Regions from separate parts of the Homo sapiens genome. Here region 1 is linked to region 2. The links are contacts of gene promoters, found by promoter capture Hi-C in blood cells and fetal thymus (Javierre and others, 2016). All regions are on one chromosome and are shown on one strand. The core of a region is centred on a gene start or on the middle of the fragment in contact, and the rest is flanking DNA. Distances in the headings are between cores, read along the strand shown.

Region 1 (6,052 bases), core at 1,922-4,421, 2.1 Mb after region 2:
GCTTAAGCCTTCTTTCCTTATGTTAAATTCTTCCGTCCCCCTACTTGACTGGCTAAGGATAAGTCACAGAGTTTGGGCATATTGTGGTCTGTGTAACTCATGGAGGGGATTCATGAAAGGGAATCTATGTACAATTTAATCTTGTCCAAATTTAGAAAGTTAAAGAATTGTTTTAAGTGTGATAGGAAAAAAAATCCAAAGGTTTGTCTGAAAGTTAATTCTAGAAGTAGAGACCTTCATCCAGGGACAAGAGGGAAAACTCACAGTGGGTCATCAGTGGTGGTTGGAATCATTCCAAAGTGGTGGTGGCACCAATCTAAGGTCAGAGACGTCTAATGTACTAAGAGGGGTCTCTGGCACTAGAGGATTGACTGCACCCGCTCCCACCAAGGGGCTCAGTTAGGCAAAAGTCTAGCAGTGTGAAAGGAGGAATTAGATGAAGACTGAAGGGGCCTAGAGTCTTCCTCACTGCCCCTGTCCAGGAACATCATAATTACTATTGCAGAGCCCTGGGTAACTAGATGTCATGGGTACCCAAATTCAGTTTTTTTTTTCCAATACAGGGGCGAATTACTCTGTCCTTACTGCTTATGCAGGAAAACTTTCCTCCCAGTCTAAGAGTGTTCCGGGAATGGAAGGAAAGCCACAAACGAGATTCTTTACTTCTCCTTTGTCAGTTTGAGAAACAAATGTTCCAACATAAATCTTTAGTAGTTCCAAGCTGCCTTGTCCACCTGTTGGGAAGCGATATTATCATTAAAATAGGGGCACTACTACAAATTTAAGCATTACCCAGTAAAATTGCTAATAGTCAAAAATACAGACAATATCCCAGACCACATTAATAAACAGGTTAACCTGCTAGCATGTTATGCTGGGAAGCCAGGTGTATTAGTCCATTTTCACACTGCTGATAAGGACAAACTCGAGACTGGATGATTTACAAAAGAAAGAAATTTAATGGACTTGCAGTTCCATATAGCTGGGGAGGCCTCCAATCATGGTGGAAGGCAAGGGAGGAGCAAGTCACATCCTACGTGGATGGTAGTAGGCAAAGAGAGAGGTTGTGCAGGCAAACTCCCTCTTATAAAACTCTCAGATCTTGTGAGGCTTGTTCATGATCATGAGAACAGCAAGGGAAAGACCTTCCCCTATGATTCAATTACCTCCCACTGGGTGTCTCCTATAACATGTGGGAATTCAAGATGAGATTTGGGTGGAGACACAGCCAAACCATATCACCAGGGAAAGCTAAAACAGCAGTGCCAGTCAAAATACCAGTTTAAAGACCCCAGCTATTGCCCCAATTGAAAACAATACCCATTTAAGCTGGAAGCAAGAAAAGGCCTGGCATCCATAGTTGAGATATTGCTTACCCATGAGCTCTTAAAAACCTGCAATTCTCCCTGAAACACCCCCATCTTAACCATTCTAAAGCCCTTGAGGGAATACCTGCTAGTACAGGATTTCAGAATAATTTATCACACTGTTATCCCCGTCCACCCATTGGTGGTGGATCCATATACCCTCCTGGCTTAGGTGCCAGGGGATGCAAAATGTTTCTCCTAGACCTAAAAGATGCTTTCATCTCTATTCCTCTGGCCCCAGAATCCCAATACCTTTTTGCCTTTGAATGGGAAAATCCTAATACCAGAAAAAAAAAAAACAATACATTTGGACAGTACTCCCTCAGGGCTTTCAGGATAGCCCTGATTTCTTAGCCTGATCTGTAGAGAGGGATCTGAGGGATCTGCAATTGGAGAATGGAAGTATATTCCAGTATGTGGTTGAACTTCTTGTGTGTAGCCCAACCCAGGAGGCTTCTGACCAAAATACTATAAAAACGTTGAATTTCCTGGCTGACAGAGGATGTGAAGTGTCCAAAAAGAAGGCTCAGATTACCCTCCAATGGATCCAATATTTAGGGTATGTCTTAACACCGGGAACCCGACAAATATCCCCAGAATGAGTGCAAGCCATATGTGGTTGCCCCACAGCCACCAAGCGCAGCTTTGTTCTTTCTGGGGAATGGCTGGGTTTTGCAGAATATTGGTACCAAATTTGGGGCTTGTAGCAAAGCTCGTATATGAAGCAACAAGGAGGCCTGAAAATGAGCTAACGGAATTGACCCCAGAAATGAGAAGCCTTCACCAAGCTAAAATAGGCCCTTACCAGGCTCCTGCTCTTGGCATCCCAGACATAACTAAGCCCTTCTTGTATGTAGCTGAGAAGGGCGTAGCTGTGGGAGTGCTAGCCTAGAAATTAGGATCAGAACCCAGACCAACTGCCTGCTTTTCAAGGAAGTTGGATGGAGCAGCCTCGAGATGACCAAGTTTCCTGCAGGCAATAGCCACTGCTATGTTTGTGGAGGAAGCCACTAAAATCACCCTGGGCCAACCACTGGAAGTTCTAACCCCCCATCAGGTAAAGCCAGTCTTAGAGATAAAAGGACACATGTGGATGATGGAGGAAAGGTTAAACATATGCCAGGCCATGCTGCTAGACAATCCAGATGTAACCCTTAAAACTTGTAACACCTTGAATCCAGCTTCATTGCTACCCACAGGCCCAATAACTGATGATTCCTGTGAGCAGGTCATTGTACACACATATATTAGCTGGCCTAATTTAAAAGATTAGCCTCTCCCAGATTCTGAAGATAACTGGTTCACAGATGGCAGTAGTTTTGTGTCAAATGGGGAGTGCTGAGTTGGATATGCAATGGTAAATCACAACACCATTATTGAAGCCCAGCCACTGCCCCCTGGCACATCAGCACAAAATACTGAAATCATTGTTCTTACCTGAGCACTAATGTTGAGACAAAGGAAAAAGCTTAACATCTATCCAGATTCTAAATATGCGTTCCTTATGTTTCATGCTCATGCTACAATCTGGAAAGAAAAGGGACTACTAAATAGCAAATACTCCCCAATAAAGCACGGGCCTGAAATTCTTCAGCTGTTGGAAGCAATACACCTGCCAAAGGCTGTAGCTATAATCCATTGTAGGGGGCATCAAAGGGACTTACTTCCTATAGCACAAGGGAACAGAAGGGCTGATAGAGAAGCTAAAGCCGTATCCCTCAGGGTGCAATCCCAACAGATCCTAGCACTGCTTCCTTTCTATGATTCCTGAATGGATCCTGAATACACGCTATAGGAAGAACAGTTAATAAAGGAACAAGGGGGACAAAAATAAGTATCCGGGTGGTATATGGAATCAAACTAAATCTCCCTCAAACAGCCCAGTGGAGATGCCACCCTGGCCATGGTTAACAGGCTCTTCATTGGGCCTAACTTAGATTCAGTGGTTAAGCAGGTCTGTCAATCCTGCTCACTGTGTGCACTTAACAGTCCAGGAAACAAAATGCTTCCTCTAATAGAATCAGTCCAGAGGAGAGGAACTTACCCAGGGGAACACTGTCAATTAGACTTCACCCAAATGCCCGCTTGTAGAGGATACAAGTTTTTGTTAGTCCTGATAGATACCTTTACTGGTTGGGTCGAAGCTTATCCTACCAGAACAGAGAAGGCTATTGAGGTTATAAAGTTTCTCTTACAAATAAATAGTCCCTTAGTTTGGGTAACCTCAGAGTCTCCAAAGAGATAATGGCCCATCCTTTATCTCCCAAATAACTAAAGGGGTCGCTAAGACCTTCAGAATCAAATACTATTTACATTCAGCATGGAGGACTCAATTCTTCGGGAAAGTAGAAAGGGTTAACCAAACTCTAGAACAAGCATTAGGTAAGCTATGTTAGGAAACATCAGAAATTTGGGTCAGCTTACTGACTATAGCCCTCTTAAGGATCTGCAATACCTCTAGAGCAAAAATTAACATAAACCCATATGAAATGTTATACGGAAGGCCATTCTTAACTAATGATCTAATTACTGATCCAGAAACAGCTGGTTTAGTGAAATACCTAGTTAATGGACAATTTCAGCAGGCTTTCACAAAAGTTTGGAACTCAAAGGTTCCCCATACCAGGAGCTAACCAGCATCCCAAAATCAGGCCAAGAGATAAGATACTTGTTAAAACTTGGAAGGAGGGATCGCCTGCTCAACAACTACAGCCCAAATGGAAGGGAACATTTTCAGTGGTGCTGGCCATGCTTTCCATGGTCAAAGTATTAGGATTTAAATAATTGGATACATCTTTCAAGGATCAAGTCTGTGATACCTGAAGCCTCAGACCTGGAACCTGAAGTTTCCTTCAGCCACTACACCTGTGAACCTGTGGAAGACCTGAAGTGCCTGTTTAGAAGACAGCCAAAAGATAAGTAAATGCCTACCAACTTTCCTTGGTGTTTTTGTTGCATAGTTATTGTAGGTTGGATAATAATAGCCATATTTTTATATATTTGGCTGGATAATAATAGCCATATTTTTATATATTTTTGCAGTTTTTCTTTTTTCAAATGTTTGGAATCACTCCCTTTGTAGCAATTAAGCAGAATGTTTTAATTTCTCCCTATAACAAACATTCCTGATAGCATAGGTATCCACCCCCTGAAGTTCCCATTAGATCTTTTAACCAAATTCATTTCCTCTCACCTAGAGACCATTGAGCTTCATATGATCATGCAACAACATTGCCAGCCAGTTCCAAATGAAGATAGCACCCCCAGCGATCAATAAACTACCCTGCCTCCACTGGATAGAGCAGGGAAAAATTTCCATGATCAGCAATAGGTAGGGATTGCACCCCAAGTTAGCATGAAGCAGCTACAGAAGAAAGACCATCAATCCCTCTGCTTCCCATAAAGATTTATGGGAATCACATCTCTCAGGGGGAATATGAGGCAGGAAAATAGGGTCTGGAAGCAGGGAACCTAAGGTTTATTCATGCTGACTGGATATCAGAGGCTACTCTCTTTACGACCTCTCCTTCTCTGTGGCAGTTGAAAAATGAGACCAATATCCCTGATGAACATCAATGCAAAAATCCTCAATAAAATATTGGCAAACAGAATCCAGCAGCACATCAAAAAGCTTATCTACCACAATCAAGTCAGCTTCATCCCTGGGATGCAAGGCTGGTTCAACATATGCAAATCAATAAACATAATCCATCATATAAACAGAAGCAATGACTAAAGCCACATGATTATCTCAATAGATGCAGAAAAAGCATTTGACAAAATTCAACAGCCCTTCATGCTAAACACTCTTAATAAACTAGGTATTGATGGGGATGTATCTCAAAATAATAAGAGCTATTTATGACAAACCCACAGCCAATATCATACTGAATGGGCAAAAACTGAAGCATTCCCTTTGAAAACTGGCACAAGACAAGGATGCTCTCTCTCACCACTCCTATTCAACATAGTGTTGGAAATTCTGGCCAGGGCAATCAGGTAAGAGAGAGAAAGAAAAGGTATTAAATTGGGAAAAGAGGAAGTCAAATTGTCCCTGTTTGCAGATGACATGATTGTATATTTAGAAAAACCCCATAGTCTCAGCCCGAAATCTTCTTAAGCTGATAAGCAACTTCAGCAAAGTTTCAGGATGCAAAATCAATGTACAAAAATCATAAGCATTCCTATATACCAATGATAGACAAACAGAGAATCAAATCATGAGTGAACTCCCATTCACAATTGCTAGAAAGAGAATAAAATACCTAGGAATCCAACTTACAAGGGATGTGAAGGACCTCTTCAAGGAGAACTACAAACCACTGCTCAACAAAATGAAAGAGGACACAAACAAATGGAAGAGCATTCCATGCTCATGGATAGGAAGAATCAATGTCATGAAAATGGCCATATTGCCCAAGGTAATTTATAGATTCAATGCCATTTCCATCAAGCTACCAATGTCTTTCTTCACAGAATTGGAAAAAACTACTCTAAAGTTCATATGGAACCAAAAAAGAGCCTGCATAGCCAAGACAATCCTAAGTAAAAAGAACAAAGCTAGAGGCATCACACTACCTGACTTCAAATTATACTACAAGGCTACAGTAACCAAAACAGCATGGTACTGGTACCAAAACAGGGATATAGACTAATGGAACAGAACAGAGGCCTCAGAAATAAGA
Region 2 (5,868 bases), core at 836-3,335:
TGATGCTCAGATAACGCGCAACTTCTGCCAGGCATTCCCGAAATCCCAAACTCCGATAGTCCATAGCAAGGGCGTGCGCGTCAAAGTAACCTAAGCAAAAGAACAAAAGAAAAATCTCAGGGCTTTGCCCGTTTCCCTCATTTCTTAAGTCCCAGAGACAGCCCTTCCTGGCAGATACCTGCATCCCTTAAAACACAACAGTCAGGGGTTCTTCCGAAAGTCTTTGGAATCAACAAAAATCTTTGCATTAATCAACATAAGCAGAATGTGTTTGCTAATGCAAGTTCAAAGCCCAATTAGAAGCTGCAGAGCAGAAATTGGAATTATACCCTACCAGCAGATGAAACTATGTTCATTCCTTTAATGTTTTCCCTCAACAACAACAAAAAATACATCAAGGGCAGAGAAACCACAGAGCAGTGAAATTCATTAGACACACAGATGTAAGTTATCATCGCGGAGCTTTTAGGCACTTGGACCTCAGTAAAGCATTTTCCTGCTGGAGAGACATACACACAGACCTTGGTCTCCCGTTAGGTTTCCTTTACTTAACCAGAATACATTTCTTTCCTCAAGAGGCATGTGGCAGCACCTTTTTTTTAAAATCCCGTATACCAAAAATAAGACCACATATTGTTTTTAAATGCTTTTTCTCAAAATAGCAATGGACAAATGTGAAAGCTACCTGATCTGAATCAGGGCTGTCACAACTTTTGAAGACCTCACAAATAATAGGTATTTTTCCAAAAGATGCACTAGCTCAATCCGCAGAGAGCTGGGGTGGTGAATTCACTGGAGAAGATTCTATGTGCATTCGAAAATGTACTGACAGGGAACTGCACACACCACACACCGTTCTCTCCCCACCCCCAAAGAAAAATCAGGCAGCTACTGCACCAATCCTGGCCTTCAGCCGCTGCTCACTCTTTGCCAACCATTCAGAGCCCCCACTAGGTCTAGGAGATGTACCTTTCCCTCCTGCCGTATGCAGCATTTTCAGGTGATCCACGGTCATCTGCAGGATCTCGGCTTTTTCTAGCTTAGCAGATCCCTAAAGATGAGAATGGCAAAAGATTGATTTGGCACAAGTTCCTTTGGGGAACAATTTAAAATATGCAAACATATATACAAAGATACATGCTTTGTAAATCGTAAAGCATGGACTAAAGCAAAATCAGTTGTCTTCACAAAATACGCTGGTATCTGTGTACGAATTCATCTAGGCACAAGCAACACAGCTATTTTCCAAGGCGGATGAGATTAATGAGGGGAAGATTCAGAAGGTGCAGATAGCTATGCTGAGAGCTTTACCTACTTGCTCCATTACCTGCTTCTCAAAAGCACTGGGTACCAGCCTTCTCAGCTCAGACAAACTGTTATTGATCCGGTCTCGTCGGCGCTTCTCAATTATCTGCAGAAGGCAAGCAAAACAAAGGAAGGCATTACCATTACGACTGTAAATTTCAAAGACAAAAAAAAAGGTGGTTATTTCCGTTAATCAATAACAAAAATAAAAGGAGAGTGTAAAGAGACTCACTCCTCTCCGTCTTTTTCTGGCCAAAATCTGGGAAGATGTAGTTGGGGACATGGAACCTAGAGCCGAACTCAAGTTTCTGAAAAGAGAAAAAGAACAAACAAAAACTGAAATCGCCGTTAAACGAGGAGAGGTGATCTGAGAGGTCGCCCCCACACCCTCCCCGCACTCAGACTTTTTTTGCCACTTGGGCTGGAAGGCACCTAGGGGTTCCCTGGCCGCAGGCTGCCGCCAGCCTGCGACGCGCGGAGGTCAGCGCAGGGCACCGGCGCGCCAAGGGTCCTAGCCCGCTGTCACCGCGGCAGGCCTGCGCTCGCCTCCCGCTCTGGCTCGGCTCCGCTCCGCCGCCGCCAGCTCACCCATTCTCGTCCGCACTCTCCTTCTCCACCTCGATGGTCTCGTCCAGCTCGCTGTCCGAGGAGCTGTACTCGGGGTGAGCTCGCTTCATGCTGGCTCCCTGGGGGTTCCTGGGGAGGGTCGGCGCGGCGGGCAGGGAGGAGTTAACTACAGCGGCGCCTCTCCGCTCTCGGCTGCTTGCGTTCCGCACACACTGATCCCGCTCACGCTTTGCCTCTGGTTAAAACTCAACCATCCTTTCCCACGCTGAGCCCCTTCCCAGGGCCCTGGGGAGGGCGGGGGAGTGGGGAAGGCGGGCGAGGGGGCGGAGAGGCGGGGCGGCAACTCCAGGGCAACAGCCGCCCCCCGGCCAATCCGGTTTCTCGCGCCGCTGATTGGCAGCCGCTCCGGGGAGGGGCGGGAGCGAGGCCGAGGGCTCTAGCGGACCGCGCCCCCGCCCTCCGCGCCCGCCCCTGCCCGGCGGCGGTGCGTCGGCTCCGCGGGGGCTCTGTCCAGCCTGCACTCAGGGGAAGGAGGAGGCGCGGGCGGCGGGGAGGCGCGGGAGGCCGGGCCGGGACACAAGCCCGCCGGCGGCCGCGGCTCCTCCCCGCCCCGCGCGCCCCGATTGGCCTGGCCGCGCGCCAGGGCCGAGCCTGCAGCGCCTCCGGTGAGCCGCACGCGCCGCGGGCCGTGGGAAAGTGCCGGCGCCGCGGCCGCCAGCCAATCCGGGCGGCCGGCGACGGCGACGGCGGCGGCCGCGCTGGCGGCGGCGGCGGCGGCGCTGGGCGTCCGCATGAATGGAGAAGAATGGGCAGGCGGGGAGCCGGGCCGCGCGAGGGCGCGCCGGCGGGGGCTGGGCGGCCGCCGGCCGGGCCCCCAGTGTGAACCTGTAATCGGAGCCTGGGCGCCGGCCGGCCTCGGAAGCCGCCGCCTAGCGCCACCGTAAATCTCGCCCGCGTGGCCGCCAGTGCCCGGCGGCTGGAGGCGCGCGCTGTTAGTGGGGCCGTGCCGGGTGCACCTGGCCGGGCTGCGCGCCGGCGGCTCCGCGGAACCCGCAGGGAGCCGGGAGAGGGGGCGCCGGGCGCGTCCACAGTGGCCACCAGCCCAGGGGCCGGTCACATGGAGGAGCAAGCTGTGGGCTCAGGGGACGCTCTTTTTGATTTCTGGGACCGAGGCCGCACATGCAGCCAGACTCGTTTCCGCAGGGGCTTCCCAGCCGCGGAATGGAATGAATACCCCTGTGCATCTCATTTCCGGGGAAGGGGAGCACTTGTTTTTTCGGCCGCCTTGGGGAAAAAAAAACCCAACGGTCCCTGGGAATAATCATTATGCTGGGATTTTTTTGTTGTTCCCCCGCTGCCCCCCCCCCCGCCCCCTCCCCCCGGCGGCCAGATCCTCTCAGCGGGCGACAGGGTGGCGGTGCTGGCGTTTGCGTCTGAGGCCGGCCTTGCTGAGGGAATGCACGTCTCTGGCCCCAGACACACACCTCTGGCTTCGGTGGCTTGGCGTGGCGTGTACTGGGTGCCACGTGAAGTCCCCCCCGAGTCCACTAAGAAGACAGATTTTTTAAAAAATACAGTTGTAAATCTCGAAACTGATTTCTGATTCCAGAAACAGAATGGTTGTTTTAAATTTGAAAATCCGGTCTTCTGTCCCTTACAAAGGTACACAGCAATTCGCATTCATCTCAGATCCACTCTGAAGCTTGTAGTCCTGTCTGTGAGGGAAAGCTTAATATCCATCGGTGAGAATAACAAAAGGCGTTTTCTCTTTGCAAAAAGCTTCCTGGTTTCTAGACTTCCTTATTGATCTCAATGCTATTTTTTTTTTGAGATGGTGTCTCACTCTGTCGCCCAGGCTGGAGTGCAGTGGCGCGATCTCGGCTCACTGCAACCTCCGCCTCCCGGGTTGAAGCAATTCTCCTGCCTCGGCCTCCCCAGAAGCTGGGATTACAGACGCGCGCCACCATGCTCAGCTAATTGTTTTTGGTATTTTTAGTAGAAACGAGGTTTCACCATGTTGGCCAGGCTTGTCTCAAACTCCTGACCAAAGGTGATCCGCCTGCCTTGGCCTCCCAAAGTACTGGGATTACAGGCCTAAGCCACCGCGCTCGGCCTCAATGCCATCTTAACACATCCTGGATGCCAAGCACTCTGAGTGGCCGGCCTGGGCCTAATCCATAGTTCCTCTCTGGGCACCCCCATCCCTCCACCACCGCCCCCAACGGGAAATACAACCTCCTGGCTCCCACTGAAGCTTATTCCACTTCACATCACCTCCAGCCCTGAGCCTTTCCATGCAGCCCCTCTGCTTCCCTGTCTAGGCTGGGCCCTTCCATCAGCCAGCCTGGGTTTGTTGCTGCTGGCACCCCAGACCTCTGGCTTCCTGAAACTCCACCGCATGCTGCCTGTTAGTTGTCAGTCCGAGGTCAATCCCACCAGCCGACTTTCTCTCTGGAAGTGCAAATTTTAAGGCTCCTTCCTGGCCCTCCCAGTCTTCAGTCCAGGGCATCCATCACTACTTCCTGCCTCTTCCCTCCCAGAAACTGATGGTCCAGGCATAGGAAACCATCCCACCTGCTCCCCTCTGCCTTCCAGAAGTCCCTCTGACCTTCCATTTCTTTCCCCAAAGTGACAGGCCACCCTTCCCCAGAACCAACGTGTCTACTTCCCCTCTGGCTCTATAGATTTTCCCAGCCTCTGGCACCTACAATGAGTCAGCCTTTCCTGCTTTGGCTCATTTCTGCTGCTGTGGAGAGGCGTGGACAAGCTGCAGATGTTGAGTGAGACGAGACCGGGTGGGGTTAGGGATGCTTAACTCTACATTGGCATCCAAATGAAATATTGCTCACATGTTCATGATTACTTTTATGTCAAAAAGGAGGTTCTCTACGGCCAGGCGCAGTGGCTCACACCTGTAATCCTAACACTTTGAGAGGCTGAGGCAGGAGGATTGCTTGAGTCCAGGAGCTCCAGATCAGCCTGGGCAACATAGCAAGATCCCCATTTCTTAAAAAAGAAAATTAAAAATTAGCCAGGCATGGCATGCACCTGTAGTCCTAGCTTCGTAGAAAGCTGAGGTGGGAGGTTTGCGTGAGGCCAGGAGTGCCAGACCAGACTGGGCAACACGGCAAGATCCCCATCTCTAGAAAAAATTTAAAAATGAACCGGGCATGGTGGCCTGTGTCCTAGCTACTCTGGGGGCCGAGGCTTGAGCCCAGGAGGTCAACGCTACAATGAGCTATGATCATTGCACAGCACTCCAGCCTGGGTAACAGAATGAGACTCTGTCTCTAAAAAAATTACAAATGAGGTTGTCTTGCTTCTTAAGTTTGACTGATTTTTCAATGCTTCCAATAAATACGTATTCTTCTATGTGCCATGTGCTGTGCTAGGGCCTGAAAACACAAAGGTGACCCAAAAGTCATCCATCTTGCACTCCTAGAACTCACATCCTAGGGAGAAGACAGAGAATACACAGTAAAGTAGTTATGGATGCTCCAGTGCTTGGAAGCACTTGTTGGTAAGGAAAAACGAGGGGGTGAGGATTCTTTATGAGGTCTGGGAAGGCCTGTTCTGAGTTTGGAAGGGACTTAAGATCAAGAAGAGGTGAACTAGGTGGTTCAGTAATAACCGGGAAGGAAGGGGCGGAGACCTCTTCCTTGAGTGGTGGGATCAGAGGAGAGAGTTACACTGAGGGCACCAGGCCCAATTTTCTCCCATCTGCTGTGTAGAAGGGATTTACCCCTGGAGGCTTTGAGTGAAGAACGACTTTAAACATCTTTGCTACCCTGAATGAAAGGTACGTCCTGCAAATTGACCCCTTCTGCAACTTAAATGGGACTGCCCAGGCCTGGCCCCTCAGGAAAAGGACCTTTTACCATTTGGGGGTGGGGAAGTGGGCAAGTGTTGCCTTTTATAATTCGTCTCTCCTGAAGAATCACCCTTTTTTATTTCGCTCAAAGGCCTATTTTCTTGCCTGGTTTGTAGAGTCTGGGT

What was found. The method cuts DNA at HindIII sites, captures the fragments that hold promoters and counts their contacts. A CHiCAGO score of 5 or more calls a contact.
Region 1: a fragment that was not itself captured here is called in contact with the fragment with the promoter of HEY1 in region 2 in 1 of 17 cell types (total CD8 T cells); the score reaches 5.3 in total CD8 T cells.

The regions. Positions count from the first base shown.
Region 1 is chr8:81,844,822-81,850,873 of GRCh38, forward strand. It overlaps LINC02235 (long intergenic non-protein coding RNA 2235), which reads left to right. Exons shown (of 8, transcript NR_170320.1): 3 at 4,170-4,286; 4 at 4,565-4,698. Among named protein-coding and RNA genes, the nearest start is that of LINC02235, 5.2 kb to the left of the region's middle. The HindIII fragment of the contact is 676 bases long and covers 2,834-3,509 here.
Region 2 is chr8:79,765,682-79,771,549 of GRCh38, forward strand. It overlaps HEY1 (hes related family bHLH transcription factor with YRPW motif 1), which reads right to left and starts at 2,086. Exons shown (of 5, transcript NM_012258.4): 1 at 1,894-2,086; 2 at 1,538-1,613; 3 at 1,328-1,411; 4 at 970-1,051; 5 at 1-90. The coding sequence starts at 1,982. LINC01607 (long intergenic non-protein coding RNA 1607) reads left to right here and starts at 2,461. Exons shown (of 4, transcript NR_125410.1): 1 at 2,461-2,537. It overlaps LOC101927040 (a long non-coding RNA gene), which reads right to left. Exons shown (of 6, transcript NR_110954.1): 6 at 3,691-5,324. RefSeq lists enhancers at 1-22, 1,609-1,658 and silencers at 2,109-2,588, 2,629-2,988, 3,089-3,258. The HindIII fragment of the contact is 6,216 bases long and covers 1-3,572 here.